Linked DNA regions of Homo sapiens: regions 1, 2, 3, 4, 6 and 7 are each linked to region 5. The links are contacts of gene promoters, found by promoter capture Hi-C in blood cells and fetal thymus (Javierre and others, 2016). All regions are on one chromosome and are shown on one strand. Each heading gives the region's core, a stretch centred on a gene start or on the middle of the fragment in contact. The rest is flanking DNA. Distances are from core to core; before and after follow the strand shown.

The links. The method cuts DNA at HindIII sites, captures the fragments that hold promoters and counts their contacts. A CHiCAGO score of 5 or more calls a contact.
Region 1: a fragment that was not itself captured here is called in contact with the fragment with the promoter of CFLAR-AS1 in region 5 in 1 of 17 cell types (neutrophils); the score reaches 8.6 in neutrophils.
Region 2: a contact is called between a fragment that was not itself captured here and the fragment with the promoter of CFLAR-AS1 in region 5, in 1 of 17 cell types (neutrophils). The highest score is 7.9, in neutrophils.
Region 3: a contact is called between a fragment that was not itself captured here and the fragment with the promoter of CFLAR-AS1 in region 5, in 8 of 17 cell types (neutrophils, monocytes, non-activated CD4 T cells and 5 more). The highest score is 13.0, in neutrophils.
Region 4: a fragment that was not itself captured here is called in contact with the fragment with the promoter of CFLAR-AS1 in region 5 in 2 of 17 cell types (non-activated CD4 T cells and naive CD8 T cells); the score reaches 6.1 in non-activated CD4 T cells.
Region 6: a fragment that was not itself captured here is called in contact with the fragment with the promoter of CFLAR-AS1 in region 5 in 1 of 17 cell types (neutrophils); the score reaches 6.3 in neutrophils.
Region 7: a fragment that was not itself captured here is called in contact with the fragment with the promoter of CFLAR-AS1 in region 5 in 1 of 17 cell types (neutrophils); the score reaches 5.7 in neutrophils.

What each region holds. Positions count from the first base shown.
Region 1 is chr2:200,844,465-200,848,630 of GRCh38, reverse strand. It overlaps the pseudogene BICD1P1. Among named protein-coding and RNA genes, the nearest start is that of CLK1, 18 kb to the left of the region's middle. The HindIII fragment of the contact is 285 bases long and covers 2,755-3,039 here.
Region 2 is chr2:200,821,073-200,825,041 of GRCh38, reverse strand. BZW1 (basic leucine zipper and W2 domains 1) reads right to left here. Exons shown (of 12, transcript NM_001207067.2): 11 at 3,737-3,859; 12 at 1-2,895. The coding sequence ends at 2,864. Among named protein-coding and RNA genes, the nearest start is that of BZW1-AS1, 11 kb to the right of the region's middle. The HindIII fragment of the contact is 2,561 bases long and covers 408-2,968 here.
Region 3 is chr2:200,867,541-200,871,636 of GRCh38, reverse strand. It overlaps PPIL3 (peptidylprolyl isomerase like 3), which reads left to right. Exons shown (of 7, transcript NM_130906.3): 7 at 116-730. The coding sequence ends at 242. Among named protein-coding and RNA genes, the nearest start is that of CLK1, 4.9 kb to the right of the region's middle. The HindIII fragment of the contact is 1,414 bases long and covers 2,064-3,477 here.
Region 4 is chr2:200,703,700-200,707,542 of GRCh38, reverse strand. It overlaps the pseudogene AOX3P-AOX2P and the pseudogene AOX3P. Among named protein-coding and RNA genes, the nearest start is that of LINC01792, 30 kb to the left of the region's middle. The HindIII fragment of the contact is 3,259 bases long and covers 143-3,401 here.
Region 5 is chr2:201,155,669-201,159,737 of GRCh38, reverse strand. It overlaps CFLAR-AS1 (CFLAR antisense RNA 1), which reads left to right and starts at 1,946. Exons shown (of 7, transcript NR_040030.1): 1 at 1,946-1,983. The region is part of intron 8 of CFLAR (CASP8 and FADD like apoptosis regulator); the gene reads right to left. RefSeq lists enhancers at 1,218-1,547, 1,568-1,647. The HindIII fragment of the contact is 4,248 bases long and covers 1-3,660 here.
Region 6 is chr2:200,798,436-200,802,274 of GRCh38, reverse strand. All of the region lies in intron 1 of BZW1-AS1 (BZW1 antisense RNA 1), which reads left to right. Among named protein-coding and RNA genes, the nearest start is that of BZW1, 12 kb to the left of the region's middle. The HindIII fragment of the contact is 5,757 bases long and covers 1-3,839 here.
Region 7 is chr2:201,451,929-201,456,035 of GRCh38, reverse strand. STRADB (STE20 related adaptor beta) reads right to left here. Exons shown (of 12, transcript NM_018571.6): 1 at 4,098-4,107; 2 at 1,184-1,290. The coding sequence starts at 1,195. Among named protein-coding and RNA genes, the nearest start is that of STRADB, 2.2 kb to the right of the region's middle. RefSeq lists a silencer at 3,726-4,107. The HindIII fragment of the contact is 3,133 bases long and covers 33-3,165 here.

The DNA of each region.
Region 1 (4,166 bases), core at 1,648-4,147, 310 kb after region 5:
TCTCTGAAAACCCCTGTGTTTCTTTTTTTTTTTTTTTTCCTCCCTAACCCACCACCTTCCTGGGTCAAACCCCTGTGTTTCTAATCCCTGGACCTTAATTAATGGCATTGTGTAGATTCATACTTATATACATGTTGCCTTAAATTTTTCTTTTCTTGGGAATTTGAAGGCATCCATAGCTTATATTATTTCTTGAGAACTGATGTTTTCAACATTGATATTTTGATAATTTTAAAATCAGCCTTCTTTAGGTGTAATTTACATACAATAAGTTTACCCATCTTAAGCGCATGGTACAATATTTTGACAGATGAACACATAGCCACCACCACAACCAATATTCAGTTACAACATTTTCTTAGCATATGGCTGATTAAAAAGAAGAAAAGAAAGAACATCTCCACAATGCCCATACGTTTCCTCATACTCCTTTTCCTTTCTTTTCTGTTTTCTTTTCTCTTTCCTTCCTTCTTTCTTTCTTTTTCTGTCTCTTTCTTTCTTTCCTTCTCTCTTTCTTTCTTTCATCTCTTTTTCCCTTCCTTCCTTCCTTCTTTCCTTCCTTCTTTCCTTCCTTCCTTCCTTCTCTCCCTCCCTCCCTCTCTCCCTCTTTCTTTCTTCCCTCGCTCGCACACAGGAGGTAGAGGTTGCAGTGAGCTGAGATCGCACCATTGCACTCCAGCCTGGGCAACAAGAGCGAAACTCGGTCTCAAAAAAGAAAAAAGAAAATCCCATTACTTTCTGGTTCTCTCTCTATGCATTTGCACCTGCCCATATGTACACATTGTAAAACTCTGCGAATGAGATTGCTGTAATTATTGTTCTGCCCCCCTTTTTACACTTAACAGATACAAGTATTCGTGTAAAAAGTCTGACAGATTGTATTTTCCAGAAATGTCTGCAACAATATCTCCCACTTCACATGCTCTTTGGAACTAGTAACTGCTTCAGAAAATGGACTATGGGAGACATCATTCTAGGTCATAAAAGGTCATGCAACTTCCATCTGGTCTTCATAGAACACCTGCTCTCTGGCAGCTCCCTGTTGGAGGGCTACCTTTTAGAATCCAGTCACCATGCTATGAGAAGCCTATCACATAGAAAGACTACATGTAAGTAACCTTTGGAAAGCCCTGATCTTCAAGTCATCTCAAGTCAGATGCTAGTGACTCCAAGCCTCTGTCATTTGAGTTACTTCCCTTATTGAACCACAGAATCTGTGAGCATAATAACATGGTTATTGTTTTATGCCACTGAACTTTAGCATATAGCAACATATAACTGAAATAAGTTCTTGGGATTGGAACAGCTGAATCAAAAAATATGTTCATTTTGGCCAGGCATGGTGGCTCACACCTATAATCCTAGCACTTTGGGAGACTGAGGTGGGTGGAATGCCTGAGCTCAGGAGTTCAAGACCAGCCTGGGAAACATGGTGAAACCCTATTAGCCGGGTGTGGTGGCGGGTGCCTATAGTCCCAGCTACTTGGGAGGCTGAGGCATGAGAATAGCTTGAACCCAGGAGGCGGAGGCTGCAGTGAGCCGAGATCATCCCACTATACTCCAGCCTGGGCAACAGAGCGAGACTCTGTCTCCAAAAAAAAAAAAAAATTTTTTTTTTCATTTATAATTCTGACCCAATGCCAATTGCTTCTCATCAATCATTGATTCAAAAATAAATAAGAAATCTGGCTGGGCATGGTGGCTCACATCCGTAATCCCACTTTTGGGAGGCTGAGGTGGGCTGATCACATGAGGTCAGGAATTCGAGACCAGCCTGGCCAACATGGCGAAACCCCATCTCTACTAAAAACACAACAAATTAGTCAGGCGTGGTGGCACACACCTGTAATCCCAGCTACTCGGGAGGCTGAGACACAAGAATTGCTTGAACCTGGGAGGTGTGGGTTGCAGTGAGCCGAGATTGCACTACTGTACTCCAGCCTGGGTGACAGAGTGAGACTTCATCTCACACACAAAAAAAAAAAAAAGCCTGGGTGCAGTGGCTCACGCCTGTAGTCCCAGCACTTTGGGAGGCCGAGGCAGGCGGATCACCTGAGGTCAAGAGTTCAAGACCAGCCAGTCTCTACTAAAAATACAAAAATTAGAATGGTGTCATTGTGCATGTCTGTAATCCCAGCTACTTGGGAGGCTGAGGCAGGAGAAATACTTGAACCTGGGAGGTGGAGGTTGCAGTGAGCCAAGACTGCGCCATTGCACTCCATCCTGGGCAACAGAGTGAGACGCCACCTCAAAATAATAATAATAAGTAAAATAAAAAATAAAAATAAAAACATAGAAAATTTGAATAGACCTATAACAAGAAATTGAATTTGTAATACAAAAATTTTGCACAAAGAAAAACTCAGGCCTAGATGCCTTCTCTGGTGAATTCTCTGGTCAAAGCCCTAATCTCCACAGTCTAGACCTACATGCTAAGAGCACACAGCTCTGCCTAGTGCTGACACCAGACCAACACAGAGGGAGGTGGGCAGGCAGCGACAGGCCCATGAGCATAGACCACAGCATCTGAGACTGTCAGTGCATGAGGAATTAAGGAAGCAAATATAGTATCAAAATATCAAAAGTGCACATGTTGATCAGATAAAAAAAGAACATTGTAACAAAGAGCCCCGTGTAACAGAGAGCCCCGTGTTTCTAGAGGGCTCTTGGCAAGCCTGGCAGCCAGGGAAGGATCTTCAGCCTGTACAGAGGCCTTTCCACGCAGCAGCTTTCGACATGCTCAACATTAAAGCTTTTTTTTTACTCTATTGCCCAGGCTGAGTGCAGTGGCGTGTTGATGACTCACTGCAATCTTGATTTGCAGGTCTCAAGTGATCCTCCCACCTCAGCCTCCCAAGAAGCTGGGACCACGGGTGCATGCCACCATGTCCCGCTACTTTTTTGTAGAGATACGGTCTCAGTCTCGCTATGTTGCCCAGGCTGGTCTCCAACTCCTGAGCTCAAGCCATCCTCCTGCCTCGGCCTTACAAAGTGTTGGGATTACAGGCATGAGCCATCACTCTGACCAACATTAAAGCTTTTTTTCCCTCCCATTAAAAACTCGGGGAATGGGCCAGGCAAGGTGGCTTACACCTATAATGTGGAACACCTGGTTGGTCAGCCCAGTGCCCTTGGCCCTGTCACTGGCGCAGGTGCAGGCATAACATAAGCTTGGGGTGGCCAGCTTGGCCTTGGGGGCAGCTTTGGTGGGGTCACACCAGGTCTGTGTGGTCCAGCTTGAGCAGCTCCAGCCACTGGGTCAGTGCCAGCTTCTGCAGGATGACCATGCACAGCAGTGAGTTCAGTGCCTTCTCATCCTCTGCAGCTGACAGCTGCTGCTGCGTCTCCTCCAGCTGTGATGTACTCATTTCACCTGGTGGCAAACTGGTGCACAGTGAGGAGAAGGTGGCCACGTCCTCCTCAGAGGCGAGCACCTGGAGCTCATTGCAGAGCTTCATCCTGGTCTTGGTAACCATGGTCTTCTTCTTCTCCTACTTGCCCTTCAGCTTGGAGAGGGCCACCTTGGCTGCCTGCTGGCTGGCCTGCAGCACAGTGTGCAGCGTGGTGAGCTGCTCCCACTTGGTGCTGAGCAGCGACTTCAACTTGAGGATCTTTTTCACGAGAGCCTCCTTGAACTTGTCCGTGGTTGGGCCCAGCTCTTGCGAGGCGATGCGCTGCCACAACAGCTCCATTATGTGGTTCACAGCTGCCTGCAGGTGCTTGATCTGGTGGCAGATGATACGAATCAAGTGGTAGATATTCATGGGCTCCCAGCATGGGTCACCCAGGGGTGATGGCAGCAAGGGGCTACATGAAGGGCTGATGTCCCTGGTCCTGCTGTGTGCTTGGCCTGCCTCTGTAGCCAGCAGCCCCCTGGGTAGGAGGATGGAGGAGTTGCCCATGGGGCTGGTGCAGCTGGCCCCGTCCTGGCCCTCAGGTAGTAGTCCCCCATGACAGAGCTGGGCCTCCAGTTGTTTCACATGCACACGTGATGGTAGAGGTTGGCCAGCTCCTCACTGAAGATCACCAGCTCATCCTGGGCCACACTCAGGCTGGCCCTGCGTCTCACCGGCAATGTTGCTCACTTTCAGCAACTTCTCCAGCTGGGCCAGTGCTGGCAGCTGGCCTTCTCCAGCAGGGAGACCTCCGCGGTGAGCGCCTGGACT
Region 2 (3,969 bases), core at 439-2,938, 330 kb after region 5:
ACAGAAACAGTACATACACAGCGTATCTATGGTAATAAAATTTATGGGGGACTCTATTAGAAAAAAGTCTAGCTGGGCGCGGTGGCTCAAGCCCATAATCCCAGCACTTTGGGAGGCTGAGGCGGGTGGATCACAAGGTCAGGAGATTGAGACCATCCTCGCTAATCCGGTGAAACCTCGTCTCTACTAAAAATACAAAAAAATTAGTCGGGCATGGTGGCGGGCGCCTGTAGTCCCAGCTACTCGGGAGGCTGAGGCAGGAGAATGGCGTGAACCCGGGAGGCGGAACTTGCAGTGAGCCAAGATCGCGCCACTGCACTCCAGCCTGGTGACAGAGCGAGACTCCGTCTCAAAAAAAAAAAAAAAAAAGCCTAAAAAGGCTGGGGGTATGATAATGGAAAAAAGCTTTTGAAAAACTGAATTAGAAGTCCAACCTCTTGGTCACATGCATTTCCCCTAACTAAAATATGCTATTTCAAAATATCCTGTAGCATTTTTGGTATATGGAGGTTTTTTTTTTTAAATAAGAATGGAATAAACATCTATATATAGAATGAAATAACATCTATAACTCACAGAGTAAGGCTAAGAAACTTACAACCAGCTCTAAAAACTCATTTAGTTTCTAAGGAGACAGCCTTAGAAACTGACAGTTAGAAAAAACATTTATCCAATCATAATTAAAAGTACAATTTAACATCTATATTAAGAATTACATACTTGAGGCCATAGGCTGGCACTGGCACCTGAATTCTAAAATTACCACTTAAGATTCAGAATGGAATCTTTTTATATGGAATGGAATCTGCAATCTTTTTATAAAGCATTCCCTTTCTTTACACTATTACTGTCACAAGTGATATCCACTTACTATAATGTTCTACTAAGTAAACACTACAGTGTCATTATGAAGAAACAAACTACGATCAAAGATAATAATGTAGTTCTGGAAGATGACACACTTTTTCACTATACACAGTATAAAATGGCACACTTTGTATGGAAGAAACATGCAATGAATTGGTTGTAGAAATATTAATGTAGTTTTAGCTACACCAGAATTCTGTGTAGGTGGTTTACAGTTTGGGAGTCTAATTATTACTTAATGGTATACAGATACAGTAAAGACATCTGAACACACAACATACAATACCACTAGGTATTAACATGGAATTTAAAAAAAAAAAGACTGATGTATAAAGCCTAAGTGTAAGTATGGACTTTATTTTTTTAAAAAAAAGTCTTTTGAGAACTACAAATTACAAAGTAAAAGCAGATCACTACGTAGAAATCTAGTGAATACATTTTGCCTGTGCATGAAAAACTTTATCAAAGTTACTCATTTTAACAAATTCACCCCATTCACAACAATCAGTTATAATGTTCTTTTTAAGGTTACTATACCTTTATTTCAAATTATATTACATGTTATTCCCTCAAAATGAACTTTTAAATGACAAACTTTTGGCTCATAAGAATGGCACCTTCAAAAGGGGCGATTTCCACTCAGTCTCTGGTGGCATTATTCCAGGCTAGTTTCACCAGTTAAAAACCTTCAAAATGTTCACTTTTAACACAAAGTCTTCCCATAAAAAATGTGGCTACATTTTCCCCCCAATGACTACATACATAGATGGGTAGCAGCAAGAAAAGATGAAAATGAAAAGGCAGCCATTAAAATAAATGGATCAATTGTATACCAAGAAGTATTTGGCTCATGGCAATTAAAAAACGGCAACTAGGGTATGTTAATAGCCAGAGGCTTGAGTCATTACTGAGTATATTAAGAGAACGAAGCCAGTCCAGTATGACCGAGTAGGAATATATAATTGTCATTGCACTTCATTTGTTATAGCAAATACTCTAAGCCAATAGGAAATCTAAGCTATATCTAGATTCCCAATTAGAACATGCTGACCTTTAACATTTTCAACAATTTTTACTGGGTTTAGTACATCAGTCATTTTCTTTACTCAAACTCCATTACGAGTTCTTTCCTATCAATCTAAGTGTATTCTGTGCATAAAATACCTTAAATGTTAAGACTTTTCTAAGGTTCATTTGAAAATGGTTGTATGAAAAGAATACCCATTTGTTTTGCCTGGAAAGATAGAAACTAAATGCAGAAGTTTCTCAAGGGGAAAAAGCTCAACTTTCTTCTTCCCACCACCTCTGCCACATTATGATTTCCTAAACTTTTCAAGTCTGTTCTCCATGGCTTCTCTAAGGATGAAAACCAGAGACCAAACAATTGAGCTTTAGGATATCTGGAGTTAAAAATGCAAAACAAAACAAAACAAAACAAAACAAAAAGTTAACATGCAAGCAATGGTCCACGTACTCAAGATTCATGTTAAATGAATTCGATTATTACATATGGGTTTTTCATTGATGAGCAGGGCTCCGGGCATGCCATATTATCTCACAAATCATTGCCTTTTGAGACTCTGGATACTTTTCCAGTTTAATTTGCAAACAGAATTTTTATAACAAATTATTTTTTAACCAAATCATATCCTTAAAACTGTTTATAGAAAACCCAGGGAATAAAGTGAACTGTTCATTGTGGAAGGCCTTAAATTACATTATTACAGTAGAAAATACAGGAGGTAGAAGATAACTGAAAAGACTAATGCAACATTAGATTCAAATCTATAGCTCCTGTAGCTACTTAAAACATGGTTTTAGAAACTAAACCCAACATTTCCAGCAACCATAGAAACAGTTAAAATAAAATTTGCCATGAAAGCCCTTATATCATGCTTGATACAGGGAGGTAGGAAGATGTAAGAACCAGGACACATGAGACATGACATTTTATCTACAACTCCTGTTTGCTTTACTGAGGGTGTAGTTTCAAAATTCAGTCACCTTCTTCAGCTTCAGATTCAGATTCTAGAAAAGGGGAAAAAAACAGTCAAACATTATGTATCAGAAGGCAAAAGTTCCCATTTATAACTTTGAAGCTTCTTTAAGACAGAGTCTCCCTCTGTCCCACAGGCCGGAATGCAGCAGCACCCTCTTGGCTCACTGCAACCTCTGCCTCCCGGGTTCAAGTGATCCTCCCACTTCAGTTTCCCAAGTAGCTGGAACTACAGGCGCCCACCACCAAAACTGGCTAATTTTTTATTTTTAGTAGAGACTGGGTTTCCCATGTTGTCCAGGCTGGCCTCATACTCCTGGCCTCAAATGACCTGATCGCCTCAGCCTCCCAAAGTGCTAGGATTACAGGCGTGAGCCACCACACCCAGCCTCCATGTAACTTTGAAGCTGTTAACGAATTTTATTAATAACCTATTTACATGAGGCAGATATTCAAAAGCATTCACTTGGAAATCCCAACATTTGGCTGGGTGCAATCACATCTGCAATCCCTGTACTTTGTGAGGCTGAGGCAGGAAGGTTGTTTGAGCCCAGGAGTTCAAGACCAGCATCGGCAACATAGTGAGACTCTGTCTCTATATTTTTAATTAAAAAAAAAAAGAAAAGAAATCCACAAATTTATAAACATTAAATATTCTCAAAATTTTCCATTTCATGAAGAACATTTACTATTATGGCTGAGCCATAAATATACTATAATAATTAAACTCTAGCTTTCGCCACCTGCCTTATAACAAAAATCTCTACTCCAGGTACAAAATGGCATCAGAAAGAAGGAAGCATGTGTGAAGATATATTATGGCCACATTAAAATTAGCTTTACCAAACAAACCACACAAAGGAAAATCCTTACCTTCTTCAGCATTTTTGAGCCATTCTACAAACTTTTTCATTTGCTCAAGGAAAACACTCTTCCCCTTTGCAACATGTGCATCTTTATACCACTTCAAAATGGGCTCCTCGCTCAGGACTTCAGCTGGAAAGAAAACTCATTGCATTAAGGGAGTTTTAATATACTCTACTCAGCGTTAGAACCACCACCTAATGTGCAAATGCCTGCTTAGCAAACAAACTGCTGAAAAGCTA
Region 3 (4,096 bases), core at 1,521-4,020, 290 kb after region 5:
AACTCAGAGATCTGTAAGACTTGATTATTTTTTAAGGAGACTGTAATTGTCATAGATATGGATATCATGTTTCAATTTAAGGAAATTTTCATATGTTATGTTGTTTCTCTTTCAGGGTAATAGATGGTCTGGAAACTCTAGATGAGTTGGAGAAGTTGCCAGTAAATGAGAAGACATACCGACCTCTTAATGATGTACACATTAAGGACATAACTATTCATGCCAACCCATTTGCTCAGTAGCTATGATAGACCTGGACAAATAACTTGACAAATTGCTGGAACACACTTATTGTGGTTTACCCGGTTTTAATTATGTCAGAGATTGCATCATCCTTCTGCTTGTTTACAACTATGATCTTCTATGAAATGGTGGTACCAAGGGGCGCCCAACAGCTTTTATCCCCATTCTTAGAGCATATTCTTTATTATAATGATTATCCAACATATTTCTTTAATTTTAATACAAAAAATACATCATTTAATTTTTGTTACATATGAACATTCATTTTTAAATGCTCAGCCTCAAGTGCAGGCATTTTTGAGTGGCCTGATTACATATTCCTCCCACAGCAAGTCCGTATCCTGGAAGTGTTATTTTATAATAAAATTTAAAAAGTTTTAAAGAATTAAATCGTAGGACAAATTAATTAAAATATTGTGTAAAATTACCTTCAGGCTATGTGTATAAGGTATATATGAAACGTAAATGAACTTCATGTTTAAATTTGGGTCTCATCTCCAAGATATCTTATTATGTATATGCAAGTATCCCCAAATCTGAAAATTTGGGTATTCCTGAAACTGATACTAACGGTAAGAGCTCTACCATTAATTATTCACTTTATACAGTTAGAAAGAGGAGGGACAGGATAAAAAGTTAGTCTGGAAAGGCCAGCCAATCCATTTGCTATTTTCTCTGATTTTTTTTTTTTTCTTTTTGAGACGGAGTCTTGCTCTTTTACCCGGGCTGGAGTGCAGCGGGTCACTGCAACCCCTGCCTCCCAGGTTCAAGTGATTCTCCTGCCTCAGCCTCCCAAGTAGCTGGGACTACAGGTGCACACCACCATGCCCAGCTACTTTTTGTATTTTTTTTTTCAGTAGAGACGGGGTTTACAGAGACCATGTTGGCCAGGATGGTCTTGATCTTTTGACCTCATGATCTGCCCACCTCGGCCTCCCAAAGTGCTGGGATTACAGGTGTGATCTTTAGGTTTACAGTAAAGGCTCTCAGAGGTCCTGGAGGCCGAGTGTGGTGGCTGACGCCTATAATCCCAGCACTTTGGGAGGCCAAGATGGGCAGATCACGAGATCAGGAGATCAAGACCATCCTGGCTAACATGGTGAAACCCTGTCTCTACTAAAAATATAAAAAATTAGCTGGGCATGGTGGCGGGTGCCTGTAGTCCCAGCTACTTGGGAGGCTGAGGCAGGAGAATCACTTGAACCCGGGAGGCAGAGGTTGTAGTGAGCCAAGATCGAGCCATTGCACTCCAGCCTGGGTGACAGTGGGAGACTCCATCTCAAAAAAAAAAAAAAAAAAAAGATGTCTTGGAATACAGTAAACACTCAACATTTCCCAACTGATTTGCTCATGGACTTTTTTTTTTTTTTTTGAGACATAGTCTCACTCTTGTCACTCAGGCTGGAGTGCAATGGCACAATCTCGTCTCACTGCAACCTCCGCCTCCCGGGCTCAAGTGATTCTCCTGCCTCAGCCTCCCGAGTAGCTGGGATTACAGGCATCTGCCACCATGCCTAGCTATTGTTTTTTTGTGTTTTTAGTAGAGACAGGGTTTCACCATGTTGGCCAGGCTGGTCGTGAGCTCCTGACCTCAGGTGATCCGTCCACCTTGGCCGCCCAAAGTGCTGGGATTACAGGCGTGAGCCACCACACCCGGCCTGCTCATGGACATTTTTTAAGGCATATCTTTTTTTTTTTTAATTTTAGATTCAGCAGGTACATGTGCAGGTTTGTTACAAGTGTATAATGCATGGTGCTGAGGTTTGGGCTTCTACTGATCCTGTCACCCAGACAGTGAACATAGTGCCCAAAAGGAAGCTTTTCAGCCCTTGCCCCTGCCCCTTCCTCCTTTTTTGGAGTCCCCAGTGTCCACTGTTCCCATCTTTTTGTCCATGTGAATCCAAGATTTAGCTCCCATTTATTGTAACTGAATGCAGGCTGGGCTGCACGCCACTTGCAAAGTCAACAACAAGGAGGAGATGCAGGAAAAGGAAAGTGACTTTATTCCAGAGCTAGCAGTGGGGAAATGGCCAAAGCTAGTACCTTAAAGAAATCATTTTGAACTTTAGGCTGGGGAGAGGTGCTTAAAAAGGGAACTTAGAATGGGAGGCATGCGGGAGTGGTGCAGGGTTTCAGATCTCTGTGGCTTGCTGTAGTGGCTATCTTGAGTTGTGGTCCACCTGGAGTGGGGGCTGGCATCATCTCAACAATGGCTGGGTTGTTGACTAACCACCTTAAGGTAATCTCTGGAATTTTGCAGCTGGGTCTCCAAGCCTGGTATATGTCATGATTAGCCCTTGATGGGCCAGGCACAGTGGCTCACACCTATAATCGCAGCACTTTGGGGAGGCCAAGGTGGGAGGATCACCTGAGCCCAGGAGTTTTAGATCGGCCTGGGCAACGTAGTGAGACCTTGAATCTACTAAAAATTGAAAAAAAAAAAAAAAAAAAAAAAAAGCCGGATGTGGTAGCCCCAGCTACTTAAAAGGCTGAGGTGGGAGGATTGCTTGAGCTAGGGAAGTAGAGACTGCAGTGATCCATGGTCGTGCCACTGGACTCCAGCCTGGGCAAGAGAGTTAAGACCCTATAGATAAGAGTGTATAGTGTAAGTTTAACAAGTGTACAGTTAGATAAATGTGCATAGTATAAGGGAGTGTGAGGCGGGAAAGGGAGGGAAACGGTTTTAACAAGACTACATTCTGAAATTAAGAAAGAAAGGGCCAGGCACGGTGGCTCACGCCTGTAATCCCAGCACTTTGGGAGGCTGAGGCAGGCGGATCATGAGGTCAAGAGATCGAGACCATCCTGGCCAACATGGTGAAACCCCGTCTCTACTAAAAATACAAAAATTAGCTGGCCGTGGTGGCACGCGCCTGTAGTCCCAGCTACTTGAGAGGCTGAGGCAGGAGAATTGCTTGAACCTGGGAGGCAGAGGTCGCAGTGAGCCGAGATTGCACCACTGCACTCCAGCGTGGAAACAGAGACTTCTGTCTCAAAAAAAAAAGGAAAAAAAAAACTTTAAAATGCATTTCAAGGCTAGGATACTTGGTTATATTACAAGTGAGAACATAAGGCATATCTCTGAAAATATTGAAGAGTGGAGCTTTACAGAATATCCATTTGAAAAATGCAATGAACTAGTTAAAGGCACCAGTTTGTGGAGTTCTGGTCTGTGTTTGAATCACAGCTGTGTCCCTTACAGTGTAACTTTAAGCAAGTTAACATCTTCAAGCTTTAGTATTCTCATCCATAAATAATACCTCAGAAGACAATTGTGAGGGTTAAATGTGTGTAAAGCTTCTGGCATGTAGTAAGTAAGTAGAAGCTGCTGTCCTAACATTCATGTCCACCACAGGGCTCTCACCTCATCAAGCCATTCATTGGGTTCTACCACTGATTTCATCAAGACCATATTCTGCCCACTGCCTAGATCACAGTGGTTGGATTTGGGTGTTCCTAAAACTTATACCAGCCGAGCGTAGTGGCTCATGCCTGTAATTCCAGCCCTTTGGGAGGCCAAGGCGGGCAGATCACCTGAGGTTGGGAGTTCGAGACCAGCCTGACCAACATACAGAAAACCTGTCTCTATTAAAAATACAAAATTAGCTGGGCGTGGTGGCACATGCCTATAATCCCAGCTACTCGGGAGGCTGAGGCAGGAGAATTGTTTGAACCCCGGGAGGCGGCGGTTGCGGTGAGCTGAGATCGTGCCGTTGGACTCCAGCCTGGGTGACAAGAGCAAAACTCCGTCTCAAAATGTTTGTCTTGGCATCAGTTCTTGGTTTGTCTCATTTCTTCCAATGGCTGGTCTAATTAATGTTTTGATTCTTTCTTGACTAGTTTGGAGTTAGCT
Region 4 (3,843 bases), core at 523-3,022, 450 kb after region 5:
GCTGGTTGCCAAGGGAATCAACCTTGCAGTTAGAGAGTTGGAACTTTTAGCCCACCCCCTGATGCAGAGAGGAGAGAGGCTGAAAGTTGAGTGGCTCACTAAAGACCAATGATGTAATCAATCATGCCTATGAAATTAAGCTTCCATAAAAACCCAGAAGGTCAAGGTTCAGATGAGTGTCTGGATAGCTGAATGCATGGAGGTTCCTGCAGGGTGGCGTGCCCAGGGAGGGCATGGAAGCCCCACACCCCTTCCCACATCCCTTCCTCTATACATCTTTTCCATCTGGCTGTTAACCTGTATCCTTTGTAATATCCTGCATAATAAATGGGTAACTGTAGGTAAAGTGTTTCCCTGAGATCTGCGAGTCACTCTAGAACATTAACCAAACCTAATGTTTGGTTATGGTTTGGTCATGGGAGCCCCCAATTTCTATCCTATAGGTCAGAAGTTGCAGAGGCCTGGATTTGTGATTGGCATCTGAAAAGGAGGGCAGCCTTGTATGACTGAGCCCTCAACCTGTGGGGCCTGACACTGTCTCCAGGTAGGGAGTGTCAGAATTGAGTTAAATTAACTTGGTGTCCACTGGAGAACTGCTTGGTGTGTGAGGAAAAATCCCACACACATCTGACATCAGAAGTGTTCTGGGATGAGTGGTGTGTGAGGGTAGAAAAAAGTATGCTTTTTCCTTCAAAGTACCAAAGTATAAATTTTTAAAAATGTAAATGATCTCTTTAGAACCTAAGCAAACAAGTCCGAGACAAAAAGGAAGCCATAAAGCTGTTAAAATAAAACTGCCTCTAAAATAAAACTCTATGCTTCATTACATTCTAGTCTTGCTTTATAACATTAATCAATTACAAGTGCTTTGTCTCTTGATAGTGACTAGATAAGAAGAAAGACAGATTGAGATGGTTTCACACATGCTTCCTGATCACTTAAAGTGTGTCATATTCATCCACTATCCTGACAATGTCTGTGCTTCCAGTTCTATCCACAGCAAAATGAAAAGTTAGTATGGTAACCAATGATTTAAATAACAGGTTCATATTATTCCACAATTCTGCATTCAATACACTTATAAAACTGACATCAGCACTTCTGAGGGAATTCAGTAGCTCACGTTTTGAAGCAAGGTTGAGTACGCAATTGCCTACACCCAAAGCAGGAATGAGATCAGAAGTTGAAATTCTGCTAACAGTTGACTTCCTAAGGATGAAAATAAAAATTAATCAGCAACCTCAGGGCTTTTATTATGAACACTGAATTAAATAGAGAATGACATTTCTTTTCAGTCTCAGCAATTAGAATAAAAAGTGCCAGCATAAATGAGAGATTTTCTTGCAAATCTTAAAATGTTTTAGAGGAATCACTAATCCCTTTATTTATTGGCGAAACAGAAGTGTGAAGACAAATCGTGAAAATCACTTCCATGCCACCCACTTCTAATTTCTGATTAGGAGAGGACTCCAGTGATTTACATATGAAGAATTTATTTTCCAACTCTGCATGTCTAGCTTGCTTGATAATAGGAAATAGTTAAGGAGAGTAACCCCAGGTGCTTGCAGCTGGTGGTGGGTGGGTGGGGTTAGTAGAGTATATCTGAGAAGAAAGGGAGCAAGGGCTGTTTGGGGTGAGATGTGGAGGGGGAGGCAGGAGCTGAGCCAGAGAGGGTTTGAAAGAGGAGACTAGGCAGCATCCCAGAGACAGCGACATCTGCAGGGTGGGAAAAGTTGATCTCCCAGCCAAGATATCACCACTAAAACCTACCCATGGCTGCAATGCAGATTCAAGGAGCACAGAGGTGACAATATACCGAGAGATTCAGATGTAAGAGGGGGCAGAGGAGAGATGGCTTGTGGGCAACATACCCTGACAACCTTTGATCTGGGGAAGCTGCCTCCTGGAAAAGGCCATTGATGGGGATTTCATCATTGAAGAATTTACTTTGAGTAACAAATTGCAGCTAGAATGACTGAGATGAACCTAGCTGGTTAAAGGCCCTCCCTCCTATAAAGATAGAACTGTTGTAATCAGGCAGCCTAGAATGTGCATGTCACAGGATCCAGAAGAGGCCAGCAGAAACACCAAGCCACAGTAATCAAAGAGGAGGGTGCAGACCGGACCATAGAAACAATCCAGTGATTCTTTCATACAGAGGCATTGAGGGTTAGCAAGGATAATGCTGCTGCTGTTATTTATAGTTGATAATTACATGTATATTTGTAGTCAATATTTTACAGCTATATATCATATATCATAATTGGAATAATACAGAATTACACTGAAAGGTTGAGTTAATTGTGTGGTTCTCATTCATATTTGTTATCAGGTCAATTGTTCTCAATGAACCCATCAGTTATCTCTGTAAGTAACAAGTTAAAGAACCCCTTAGGGAGCTGTTAAAGATAGACATTTCTGGACTGGATAGATTCTCAACAGACAATTGCAGATATGAACCAGGTCATGGGTGGGTGGACCAGGAAGGCAGCACCTCCTCTCTGGCTCCCTATTCTGAAAACTTGGGCATTTAAGTGGCTTATCCACAAGGGTCTGAAATTAGGCAATCTAATATTTCAATCATGTGAAAAACACCAATGGATACAGCAGAAAGTGGTAGAAATCATGAATGATACAACCTTTCCTCACTAAACTACCCACACCCAGATAATTGGTGCAGAAAACCTACTGCCACGTTCCTGATCTATTGTCCAGCCAGGGTTCTCAGATGCTTCAAGAGAGCATGATGTGTCTGTGTGTTCTCTGGGACTTGGGGACCACATCAGCCAGGATGTCCCTCACCTAGGCCAGGCTGAGGCCAGGGTCAGCTCTGAAAGTGAGACACCTTCATTACTATTCTGTAAACCTGGGAAAGAAGAGGGTAAGTCGGAAAGGCCAGAGTAGGCATATAATGCCACCACTCTCTTTCATAAAAGACCCCTTTTTAAATTATTAAATAACACATCTTCATTGTAGACTACCTTGTAAATATAGAAAAGTGAGGAAAAGAGAGTAAACATGATTCAGAATCCCTGAAAAGCAATCAGAACCATTACAGCCATGCTTTGCGCTCTGCTCTAAGGATCAAGAGAGATTTTCCTCATCAGGTGCTGGGTAGCTCCTCTCCCACCATCTCCCCTGCTCTCTGCTCCAGCAACAGGCACTGCCTCCAGTCTCCTGCACAGTGTGTGTGCAGTTCCACCCTCCTTACCTGGTAACTCCCCCTTCCTTTCATCTCAGCTGAGAGAAGCCTTCCATAACTGTCCGATAAGTTTGGGTCACCCTATTACCTGCTCCTCTAACATCACATTCCACTCTTTCATAGCACTTGTCACAATTGCAGTTTTGCATTTCATTTGTTTATTTCTTTGATACCTGTCTTACCCATCAGATTATAAGCTTCATGAGAGCAAAGTCCAGGCCTTTTTCTTTAAGTCATTGTATCCTCAGTGCTTAACACCATGCTTGTTTCCTTGTCTAACTTCACCAAGTCCTTCCCATCTTTATGGTTGAGCTTGAATTCCACACCTCTTTCACCGTACGTCCTTTGGCTCTCTTATCTCTATCATTTCCTACTAAATTTGTATCCAGTTCCATGTGATTGGCACTGAATCATTCTCTAGTTGAACCATAATCCTAAGTGACACTATAGGTATATGCTGACCTGCCTGCCTGCTTTTCTGCCTCCCTCAATTCATAAAACAAATCGGAGCACCTACTGTGTGTCAGGCATGTTCTAAGGGCTGAAAGCACAGACATGTTATCCACTGTCAGGAAGTCAACATTCTCTTAGGGGAAGACAGTCATAACCAGACAATTGAATACGTCAGTTGTAATTTCAGA
Region 5 (4,069 bases), core at 697-3,196:
GATTTGTATACATTTTTAGGTAAATAATTCACCAGGTAAGTCCTTTGACCTTTCCTATCGGTAAAAGGAAAAGGCTTCTTACTTTTCTCCTTTGCTTGGCCCACAACTAAGGATTAAACAATGAATTATTGGCTGGGCGCAGTGGCTCACCTGTAATCCCAGCACTTTGGGAGGCTGAGGCGGGCAGATTACCTGAGGTCAGGAGTTCAAGACCAGCCTAGCCAACATGGCGAAACCCTGTCTCTACTAAAAATACAAAAATTAGTCAGGTGTAGTGGCACGCACCTGTAGTCCCAGCTACTCAGGAGGCTGAGGCAGGAGAATCGCTTGAACCCAGGAGGTGGAGGTTGCAGTGAGCCAACATTGTGACACTGCACTCCAGCCTGGGCAACAGAGTGAGACTCTGTCTCAAAAAAAAAAATTAATTATTATATCATGTAAGAATGAAGAGCTACAAAGGAGGTGCTGATATTCCTAAGTCTATAATCAATAAGCATCATTAACAAGGAAATAGGAGACATGATTCACAGGTTGCAAATAACCCATTAAATAGTGAGGGCAACCAGCCCCAGTGGCTCACATCTGTAATCCTAGCACTTTGGGAGGCCGAGACGGGCAGATCACCTGAGGTCAGGAGTTCGAGACCAGTCTGGCCAATATGGTGAAACCCCGTCTCTACTAAAAATACAAAAATTAGCCAGGCGTGGTGGTGCTCACCTGTAATCCCAGCTACTAGGGAGGCTGAGACAGGAGAATTGCTTGAACCCGGGAGGCAGAGGTTGCAGTGAGCCAAGATTGCGCCACTGCACTCCAGCCTGGGCAACAGAGCAGAACTCCGTCTCAAATTCAAATAATAATAATAATAATAATAATAATAATAATAATGATGAGGGCAAATGCCGTTACAGGATCTCTGGGTAGCTGTTATCAGGACTGTAATTTTGCACAGCCTTTTTGAAGAGCAATTTGGGAGTATCATTAAATTTTAAATGTGTATACCCTTTATAAAAAAAAGAAAACTCTGTGTGGTAGAAGAGGCCTGGACGCACTGTCCCCTAGCCATCTCCTCTGAGGGTGCAGGCTTGTTTCGATACCCAGTGCTGAATCCAGGCTGAACAAGGAGAGAACCTGGACTAGGACTCCAGTTCCATCACTGCTATTCTATTCCAAAGGACTCACACGTCTCTAATCATGGAGTATTTGCTCCTCCAGGGGGCAGAAGCAAACAGGGAAACACCAGACTCAAAGCTCTTTTGTGTACTTATCTCAAGATTGGTTCACTTCCCTCAAAACCTCTCTTCACTGATAAATGTCCTTCCTTATCAAACAAAGTCCTTGAAAGAAAACTTCACCACATTCTCCCTGCCCATGCTGATATGTAAGGCTTGGACAGAACAAATGCTGTACTGTGCCTTCCAGCTCTTTCCTTTATTTGTGCTCCCTGGAGGTTCTGGCTGGGGAAGCCCCTGTCACATGACTGTGAGCAGACAGCTGTGTGGTGCAGGGCAAAAGAGGAACCAGCCTTGGAATCACAAGATGTGGGTTTAAGTCCTAGTTCCTCCATCTCCTCCTACTAGGGTCTGAATCTTGCATGGTCTTGGAAGAGACTGAGCTATAACAGCAGAGAAGCTAGGAAGGAAATGGGAATCTGAGGTCTGGGGCAGAAAATCCTTACCTAAAAGAACAGAAGAAAAATGGCTAAAGCTGGAGGTGAAGCCAAAAACCATGCAGGTCCCAAGTGCCAATAAGAATAGCAGGTCTGAGCCTCAGACAAGACACAGCATTGCTTAAATATCCTGTGGCAAGGGAGTCACTCCACAGGCCCAGCCTGAAGACATTACCGCTGACATTTCCCATTAACGTCACAATTTTCCTCTATGAGGTGGTGAGGTGGAGTGGGAAGGGCTGTTAGCTGGCACTTGCAACTTTATTGCGCCAGCAAGAACATGCATACAGCCCAGTCTAACGTACAGGATCAAAAAGGTAATGACAGTGTGACTTTGAGTCAGTTTGAGTCAGCCCCAGTTTATTCATCTATAAAACAAGATTAAAACTAATGCTTGGCCAGGTGCAGTGGCTCACACCTACAATCCCAGCACTTTGGGAGGCTGAGGTGGGAGGATGGCTTGAGCTCAGGAGTTTGAGACCACCCTGGGCATCACAGGGAACCCCGTCTCTACAAAAAATAAAAAAACTAGCCAGGCATGGTAGTACAAGCCTGTAGTCATCACAGCTACTCAGGAGGCTGAGGCAGGAGGATCTCTTGAGCAGGAGGTTCTTCAAAAGGTGACTGTGAGGGCAGGGTACAGTGGCTCATACCTGTAATCCCAGCACTTTGGGAGGCCAAGGCGGGTGGATTGCTTGAGCTGCAGAGTTTGAGACCAGCCTGGGCAACATGGCGAAACCCCATCTCTACCAAAAATACAAAAATTGGCTGGGCATGGTGGCACGCATCTGTGGTCCCAGCTACTTGGGAGGCTAAGGAAGGAGGATCACTCGAGCCCAGGAAGTGGAGGAGCCAAGATCGCTCCACTGCACTCCAGCCTGGGTGAAAGAGTGAGACTCTGTCTCAGAAAAAAGGTGACCGTGAGGATCCAATGAGATTTCTGTAAAGATGCTTTGCAAACTGTGTTTATTCAAATATAAGATATTGACTTTAAAGGAAATAAAGGCAGCCATTTCAAAGTACAAATCACCAACCTTATGGTGTTGCACATCTCTCATGGAATCTCTCTCTTAGGACCTGGAGGGAGGTCTCTATATTCTAAACTAAAATGGGCTCAGAGCAGACAGAGTCCATATCCTATGTAGGTAGGACAGTAACTGTTTTGTCCTTGCACATAAATAGAGGAAGAAAAACTTGGGGGCTGGGTTTGGAAAATAAAATTTCAACAAACTACAGAAGACCCACTTCTCCTTCTAGAACCCACCCTGGAAATCCCACACTCAACCCAGTCTGATCTCCGTAAATTTCAACTGTTCTTTAGAACTTCTGGAAATGATGTGGGGGGGTGGGGAGGGGAAGGGCAGGGGTTCTTCTGGCCTTGCAGTTAGTACAGGGCTGTTCATTCAAGGCTAGGGTCAGCACTACTCACAGGTTTGAGGACTTCACAGATAAACCAAAAAAACCAAAATACAGTAAAATGTCATGACTTCATTAATTTAGAATTTGTTTTGATCTAAATGAGGATACATTTATCTTGACAATTTCTATGAAAAGGGCTTCATTAAATAAATGTATAAAATAAACAAGAATGAGGGAATGCTTCACCAGTTAATTTACAATCACATATTGAGTACCTTTAATAAGCCCAGTGTTAACTGCTATAGAGCACATGGGTAAAACATAAGATGGGCAAAACATTCTTAGTGAAAAAGGGAGTTCTGAGGTCAAACGTGTTTGGGAAATGCAAGGTGGACAAGGCTAAAATAGGTTTCTTCGCAGGAAGAATTCTCAGAGCCTTTAATAGGTCAATATGCATTGCAAATCTCTGAGGGGGAAGAGATTAGGCAGCGCTTCTCAAATTTACTTGACCGGAAAACTCTTGTTTTACAAAGTTCCCCTTATTGCCTACAGAAACACTTGGACAAGAGAATACATATCAAATATATGATGTACTTCAATCAAAGAGCTTATAATCTTGTTGGGGAAGCAAAGCTTATAAATACGCATAAAACAAAGATTACGTGGTGGCTCATGGCCATAATCCCAGTGCTTTGGGAGGCCAAGGCAGGAAGATCACTTGAAGCCAGGAGTTCAAGACCGCCCTGGGAAATACAGCAAAAGACCCTGTCTCTATAAAAAACAAAGTTAGCCAGACATGATAGCATGTGCCTGTAGTCCCAGCCACTCAGGAGGCTGAAGTGGGAGGATTGCTTCAGCCCAGAAGTTTGAGACCAGCCTGGGCAACATAGTGAGACCCTGTCTCTACAGAATATTTTAAAAATTAGATGGATGTGGTGGCGCCTGTGTGTAGTTCCAGCTACTTGGGAGGGTGAGGTGAGAGGATTGCTTGAGCCCGGGAGGTGAAGGCTGCAGTGAGCCATGATTGTACCCCTGTGCTCCATT
Region 6 (3,839 bases), core at 452-2,951, 360 kb after region 5:
CTTTTTATTTTGTGGTCTTTGTTGTTTGTATGTTTTTCAACTTTTATTTTAGGTTGAGGGGGTCCATGTGCAGGTTTGTTATATAGGTAAACTCATATCATAGGGCTTTGTTGTACAGGTTATTTTGTCATCCAGGCGCTACGCCTAGTACCTAATAGTTATTTTTTCTGATTCTCTCCCTTTTCCAATCCTCCACCCTCAAGTAGGCCCCAGTGTCTATTGTTCCCCTATTTGTGTCCATGAGTTCTCATCATTTAGCTCCCACTTATAAGTGAGAACATGCAGTATTTGGTTTTCTCTTCCTGCATTAGTTTGCTAAGGATAATGGCCTCCATCTCCCTTCATGTTCCTGCAAAAGACATGATCTTGTTCTTTTTTTATTGCTGCATAGTATTCCATGGTGTATATATACCACAGTTTCTTATTCAGTTTCTCATTGATGGGAATTGTATTAGTCTGTTCTCATACTACTATAAAGAACTACCTGAGATTGGGTAATTTATGAAGAAAAGAGGTTTAATTAACTTACAGTGCTGTAGGCTGTATAGGAAGCATGGCTAGGAGGCCACAGGAAATTTACAATCATGGCAGAAGGCAAAGGGGAAGCAAGGCACATCTTACATGGCAGCAGGAGAGAGATAGCACAAAGGGGGAGGTGCTACACACTTTCAAACAACCAGATCTCATGAGAATTCACTATCAACAGAACAGCAAGAGGGAAATCTACCCCATGATCCAATTACCTCCCACCAGGCCCCTCTTCCAACACGTGGGGATTACAATTTGAGATGAGATGTGGGTGGGGACACAAAGCCAGACCATATCAGGTATTAGGTTGATTCCATGTCTTTGCTATTGTGAATAGTGCTGCAGTGAATATTTGTGTGCATGTATCTTTATGGTAGAATGATTTATATTCCTTTGGGAATGTAATGGGATTGCTGGGTCAAATGGTAGTTCTGTTTTTAGCTCTTTGAGGAATCGCCACTCTGCTTTCCACAATGGTTGAACTAATTTACACTCCCACCAAGAGTGTGTAAGCATTCCCTTTTTTCTGCAACCTTGCCAGCAGCTGTTATTTTTTGAGTTTTTAATAATAGCTATTCTGACTGGTGTGAGATGGTATCTCATTGTGGTTTCGATTTGCATTTCTCTAATCAGTGATATTGAGCTGTTTTTCATATGCTTTTTGGCCACTTGTATGTCTTTTGAAAAGTGTCTGTTTATGTCCTTTGCCCACTTTTTAGTGGGGTTGTTTGTATGGAGGTTCATCATTAGTTACATTTAGTCAATAGATTATATGTGTTGTAGAATATGAAATTTATTCATTTAAATTGTAAATAAACTATTTCATCAGGTTAATCGCTGTATAAATTATGTAGGCTCTTCTTACATACGGAAGAACCTTAGAGTCCTGTGTTTGTTTGTTTTTCCTTTGTTGGTTGCATGTCAGCATCTAACTTTAAGCATATAAACCAAGGAGGGAGTGTGGGAGAGGGGTGATGGATGAAAAACTACCTATTAGGTACAATGTACACTGTTTGGGTGATGGGTACACTAAAGTTTCAGACTTCACCACTATACGATTCACTCATGGAACCAAAAACCACTTGTGACCTTAAAGCTGTACAATATATAGTGACTCCTATACAATATGTAGTGAGCAGATTTCAAAGATATAGTCAATGAGGGAGCGAGTGTAATAAAGCAAGTTCAAAGGAAGATGTGAGAAACCAATATGGAAGAAAGAACATCAGAATAAGATTGCAGATTAGGGGGAAAAAAACCCAAATAAACAACAAAACAAAACTGGTTAATGTCCTAAGGGCAATAAAACTGAAACCTTGGGGGATTTCTTTTCAACTATACAGCAATTCTTTGTAATTTATCAATGTTTTGCAAGTTAACACCTGTATTATTTCCTATTACAGCTACAACAAATTATCCTAAACCTGGTGGCATAAAACAACACGAATTGATTATCTTACAGTTCTGAAGGTCAGAATTCCAAAGTGGGTCTCACTGGGCTAAAATCAAGGTGTCAGCAGGGCTGCATTCTACTCGGAGACTCTAGATGAGAATGTGTTTCATCACCTTCGCCAGCTTCCAGAGACTGCCTGCGTTCCTTGGCTTGGGCCCCTGACATCTTTAAAGCCAGCTACTCTAACACCAACTCTCCTGCCTCCCTTTTCCACATTTAAGGATTCTTTTTTATTTGAGATGGAGTCTCGCTCTGTTGCCCAGGCTGGAGTGCAGTGGCACAATCTCAGCTCACTGCAAGCTCCGCCTCCCGGGTTCACGCCATTCTCTTGCCTCAGCCTTCCAAGTAGCTGGGACTACAGGCACCCGCCCCCATGCCTGGCTAATTTTTTGTATTTTTAGTAGAGACGGGGTTTCACCACATTAGCCAGGATGGTCTCGATCTCCTGACCTCGTGATCCGCCCGCCTCGGCCTCCCAAAGTGTTGGGATTACAGGCGTAAGCCACTGCCCCCAGCCACATTTAAGGATTCTTGTGATTACATAGGGCCTATTGAAATAAGCCAGAATAATCTCTTTATTCTAAGGATACCTGATTAGCAAACCTAATTCCAACTGCAACATTCATTTCCCTTTGCCATGTAACCTACATAGTCACAGTTTCTAGGGATTAGGACATGGATGTCTTTGGCGTGCTGTCATTCTACATGCCACATGATCTAATGTGGTCTGGGCCCTAATAAATGGCAGATATATAAAGTTACATTTCCCTAGAGCAAACCCATCTATATAACTTTCTGGAGTGATGGATACTGGTCTTTTCTGTGCTGTTTAATAGGGTACCCAGTAGCTGCATGTGGTTACTGAATACAGTACTTGAAATGTAGCTAAGGAAACTAGGGAACTGAATTTTTTATTTAAATTATTAAAAATTAAATGTACATAGCCACATGTGGCTGGTGGCTACCATATAGACAGGGCAGCCCTAGAGCGTCAGATAACTCTGTAATGGGTTTATTAGACAGTGCTGGAAGATAACATTGACAAGTTATCTGAGTGGGGAGGTTCGCTTGAGGCCAGGACTTTGAAACCAGCCTGGGCAATATTGGGAGATCCTGTCTGTACAAAACATTAAAAAATTAGCCAGGCCTGGTGGCACAGTCCTGTAGTCCTAGCTACTCTGGAGGCCAAGATGGGAGGATTGCTTGAGCCCAGAAGTTTGAGGCTGCAGTGAGCCATGATTGTACTAGGGCACTCCAGCCTGGATGACAGAGTGAGACCCTGTTTCTAAAAGAAAAGAAACGGCTCACAGTATTTTTTTTTCTTTTTTGCATTGTTTCCAAGTTTTGGAAAATTTTGCTTAATACATGCAAGTAAAATAAATAGTGGCTCCAGCAGATTTATATCCAAAAAAAAGTGAAGCCTGGTTTCTTTGCCAAATAACTGTAGGTTCTTTCTTTTTACCTTCCTTAGGTCTCCTGGCTCATGGGTATCTGAGTTACACAGTGTAGGTTTCATCTGTACTTTTGTTGTCATAGAGCACATTCATTGGCTCTTCCTTAATCAAACATATGCAAGTATCAGTTTGAGATGGACCCTGTGGTAAGAGATGAGTAAAACACAATCCCTGTCATCAGCCAGTGGCTCATCTAGAAAGAAAGGATGCACATGCAGACAAATCGATTGTGTGTTATGTAAGAACCAGACACAATAGGGGCATAAAGGAGAGAGAGTCACTTCTACCCCAAAACTATCCATTAGCCTCAGCAAGGTTTATGGGTAGAGTGGGTTGAATAGCATCCCCCCAAATTCATGTCTACCTGGAACCTCAGAAGTGGCCTTATTTGGAAATAAAGTCTT
Region 7 (4,107 bases), core at 350-2,849, 300 kb before region 5:
CACCTCCGTGTATTTTCCAGATATATAAAGCTTCTCTTTCAAGTGGTAATGCTTTACTTTAAACATGTAAGTAACTGTGTTATGTATTTTCCATATTACTAACAATCCAGTCTTCTAACTTCATAGTTCTGCCTCTCAGCCTTGGTAATTGATAGAATAGATTGGCAGGTATGAGTCTGGCTCCAACTTTTTGCAATCTTGGACAAACTGAAAATGAGGATAATGCCACCTGCCCTGCTAAACTTACACAATTTGAAACTATGAAAGAAATATATGAAAGTATTTGTAAACTATAAATCATCATACAAATATACTCATCCTTTTTTTTTTTTGAGACAGGATCTCCCTCTATCACCCAGGCTGGAATGCAATGGCATGATCACAGTTCACTGCAGCCTTGATCCCTTGTTCAAGGGATCCTCCCACCTTAACCCTCTGAGTAGCTGAGACTACAGGCATATGACACTACGTCTGGCTAATATTTTATACAGACAGGATCTCACTATGTTGCCTAGGCTGGTGTTGAACTCCTGGGTTCAACTGATTCTCTAGCCTTGGCCCCTAAAAATGCTGGGATTACAGGTGTGAGCCACTACACGTGGTCTACTCATTACTTTTTTAAAAACCACATTTTAATATAAGTATTCCCTATTCAAATATTATTATTATGTATAAAACAGGATGAAAGTCCTCAAGCTACTTAATCTAAAGTAGATACCACGGATCTAAATATAAATAGAAAACCAGTTGGCAGCTATACCTCATATATACATTGATCCAAATGATTTTATTTCGGTTAAGTCAAAGGGGTTATTTTTAATACTGTTTGGCTTGCTTTTGGTCAGATGGAAATTTGTAAAAGGAATTTCTGAAAGATTTAAAAGATAAGGCATAGCTAACTGGTGTGGGTGGCATATCAAAGTATAACACCTATGAGAAAAAGTAGATATGGGACAAAAGATTAGAATAATGAACATATTGAAGTATACGAGAAGTTCTTTATGAAAGAAAGAAAAACTCAATGAGAATGTAATTCATTTCTCAAGTCCAGAAGTCAATCAGGTCAAAACAATATCTCAGAGCATAAGAATATCCCATCAGAATATGCCTTTTATTATGGCTTGGCATTAACATCCAACTACTCTGACAGAACAAAATCAGATCTATATTTACAAAAACTTACCAAAAGAGACATTGAATCACTTTAGTTCACACAGAAAGTGACAAAAATCCATCTATTCCAAAGAAGGCTTTTGTTTTATCTTCCTTTCAAGATGCAGATATATCCTACTATAAAAAACAAAAGCAAAATAATTTAGATTCACATAAAAGTTCCTTAAAGAACCAGTTGCCTTAAACCCATCCAATATTTAGGCAGCTATTCCCTGATACCCAATATTTAGGCAGCTACTCCTTGACACAAGGAGACATTCCTGAAAAGTATCTTTAAAGAGCATTTATTTTTTACTGAACATTATTTGTGATCTGACATCACAACCAAGAAGCAGAGTGAAAACAAAAAGAAGTCCTGAATATTTCCAAAGCCTCAATATGTTTGCATTTCTCCTTCCCTATCTTTTCTATACTGTTTTTTGTTTGTTTTTTAAAGAACGCTGAGCAAATTTGAAAGCAATGTAGAAAACCAATTTTTGGCCCACTTTTGATATAAACAGTGTCACTTACAATAAACCCCAAGAATTTTCAATGGTTCCACATATTACAACTAAACTTTGAGACTTTCCAAAGCCCTTTCTTATTGGATTAATTACGTATTAAATCATTTGGGGTCCCTGACCAGCAAATATGGGAAAGAATCAGAATAACAGACTAGGAAATTAATTCAAGGAGATACAAAAGCACCATCCACGGTTTCCAGACCTTTACTAATAGAAAGGGTGGCAATCTTGTAAGTTTGTGGGTTCAGAGCATCCCTTTACATCTAACCAACATCATCTCTTTCATCTAAATTGTGCTTCATTATTTCAACTCCCCAAATTTGATGAACCCATCTACAAATATGTGAGCAGGATGAGAAAGGGAAGATTTTGTAAACCATAAAAACCATAAAGCAATATCCAATTTTATTGCTAAAGAAAGAGGTGAATTTATTCAGGATGTTCACTATGAACCAAAGGTAGAGATTGGGAGGAAGACGGACCTGAAAGGCTGTGATCATTTAGCCACCTACCATTCATTACCGTCAATTTAAAGCACTGGAGTTTGCTGTGCTGCAAAAGGAGGAAAGCAATGCCTGCCCTGCCAACCTTCCAGGGTGAATGAAATCAAATGAGTTACATCTCAAAGTGCCCCTAATTAGCAAACACTGTATCAGCTTGAACTATGCTTTGAAAGGTACACTCAAATGTACTGATGGCAGTACAAAACTATAAGGTTTATTTGGAAAGCAGGTTGTCAAATGTTTCAATAACCATGAAAATATTCATACTTTTTGACCCAGTAAAATTCCCCGGAGTGATCTATTCTAAGGAGATATCCAAGTAAATGAAGAAACTACACATCATAGTCAATACACTGTTAATCTGTTAACAGCCAAGTAATCATTACACAAGTGTTTAATGAGTGGTTACCATGGGTCAGGCACTGTGGACACCCGCTGGTAATCAGGGCAGACAAGACCCTGGCCACTTGTAGCTGACCTTCCCACAAGCAGAAGGGTTATGGATGTCATGATTAACCAAATTTTCTGGTTATCATGATTTTGTATCCTGCTTTTTTCACTCAATGTCAGCAAGTTGTTACTGATTTTGTCTTAATAATGTGAAACTCCATTACGTTGTCTATTTTTTTCTCTTTTTCAGAAAAGCTCAGAAGAAACAGACACAATCTGGTAAGAATTGTTAGTAATAAAAGGGTTGTCCCTATGGGGTGGTTTAATCTCAGAGATTTTTGCCTTAGATACACCAGACTATTAAGAGATAATTTTACAAGACATTTTGAGGTCAAGGCAGCAGCTGCACCCAGCAAAGGGGTGGGGGTGGGGGATTTGCTGTTATTATAATTTTCTCCGGCATGCTCTTTCACGAGATATGAATATAAACCCTTTCTTAAAAAAAAGTCATATTTAAGAGACTTATATTTCGTATTCACAAGTACATCAGTGCAGTCCCTTACACTTGTATCCAAAACGCTAATTACGATAAAGCTTTATAAGTAATTTCAGTTTGTTCCATAATAGAATGGTTCATGTGAAGACTTTGATCTGAAAGATTAACACTTTCTGTAGAAACCAAAGGGCGCATCTTCTAGAACACGGGTTTTGAGTTAATTTAGGCATTCAACAGAGGCCACTGTTACAGGGAATGCAAAAATGACCCGATGTAACTCTTTGTTGAGCTTTAAAATTACTGTAATTTTCAAAGTGATCTTGGGAACCCATAAAATCTTAACAAAGATCATAGCGACGCACAGTTCAGGAGAATTTTCCAAGCTTAGTGACTCATGCGTTCAACAAATCTTTACTGAGCGCCTACTGGGTGCCAGGCACCGTGCTAAGCAGGCGCCGTGTTACACATCCGTATCAAGTTTTGGGGAAAAGGTACTTGACAAAGACCCAGCAGGGAAAAACACAGCGTTGAATTGAAAAACCGAAGACAAAACGACACTCGAGTATTTAATTTTGTAAAAGGTTCCTTCCTAGTCCTGCTATGGGGGACTTTGCAGCGAACTTGCAGAAGGCGGCAGATAGAGCTGGGGTCTGAGGGTGTCTTCGATATGGCAACTCCCCAAGCCCGAGAGCGCGGCCAAAGGTGAGGGGTGCGGGGAGAGGGCGCCCGGGCGGCCTGGGCCCCGCGCACCTGGCACGGCCGGCACGGCCAACCCGGCAGGCACCACTGGGCGGGCTGCGAACCCGCGGCCCGGGCCCCGCTGAGCCCGAGCTGCACTGGCGCAGTGGCTGCTCGCCACCTCGGGCCGCATTCTTGCCACGGCTCCCGCCAGCCGCCGGTGCTCGGGCTGGAGGTGGGCTAGCGCGTTCTGGCCTCTGGCTTCCCGGGCGTGCGCGGACCAAGGCTCACTCCCTCACACGTCCCCCACCGGCCCCGACACCTTCCCTTCCCGGGCCTGCCTCCCGTCTTTACCCTAGCGGCG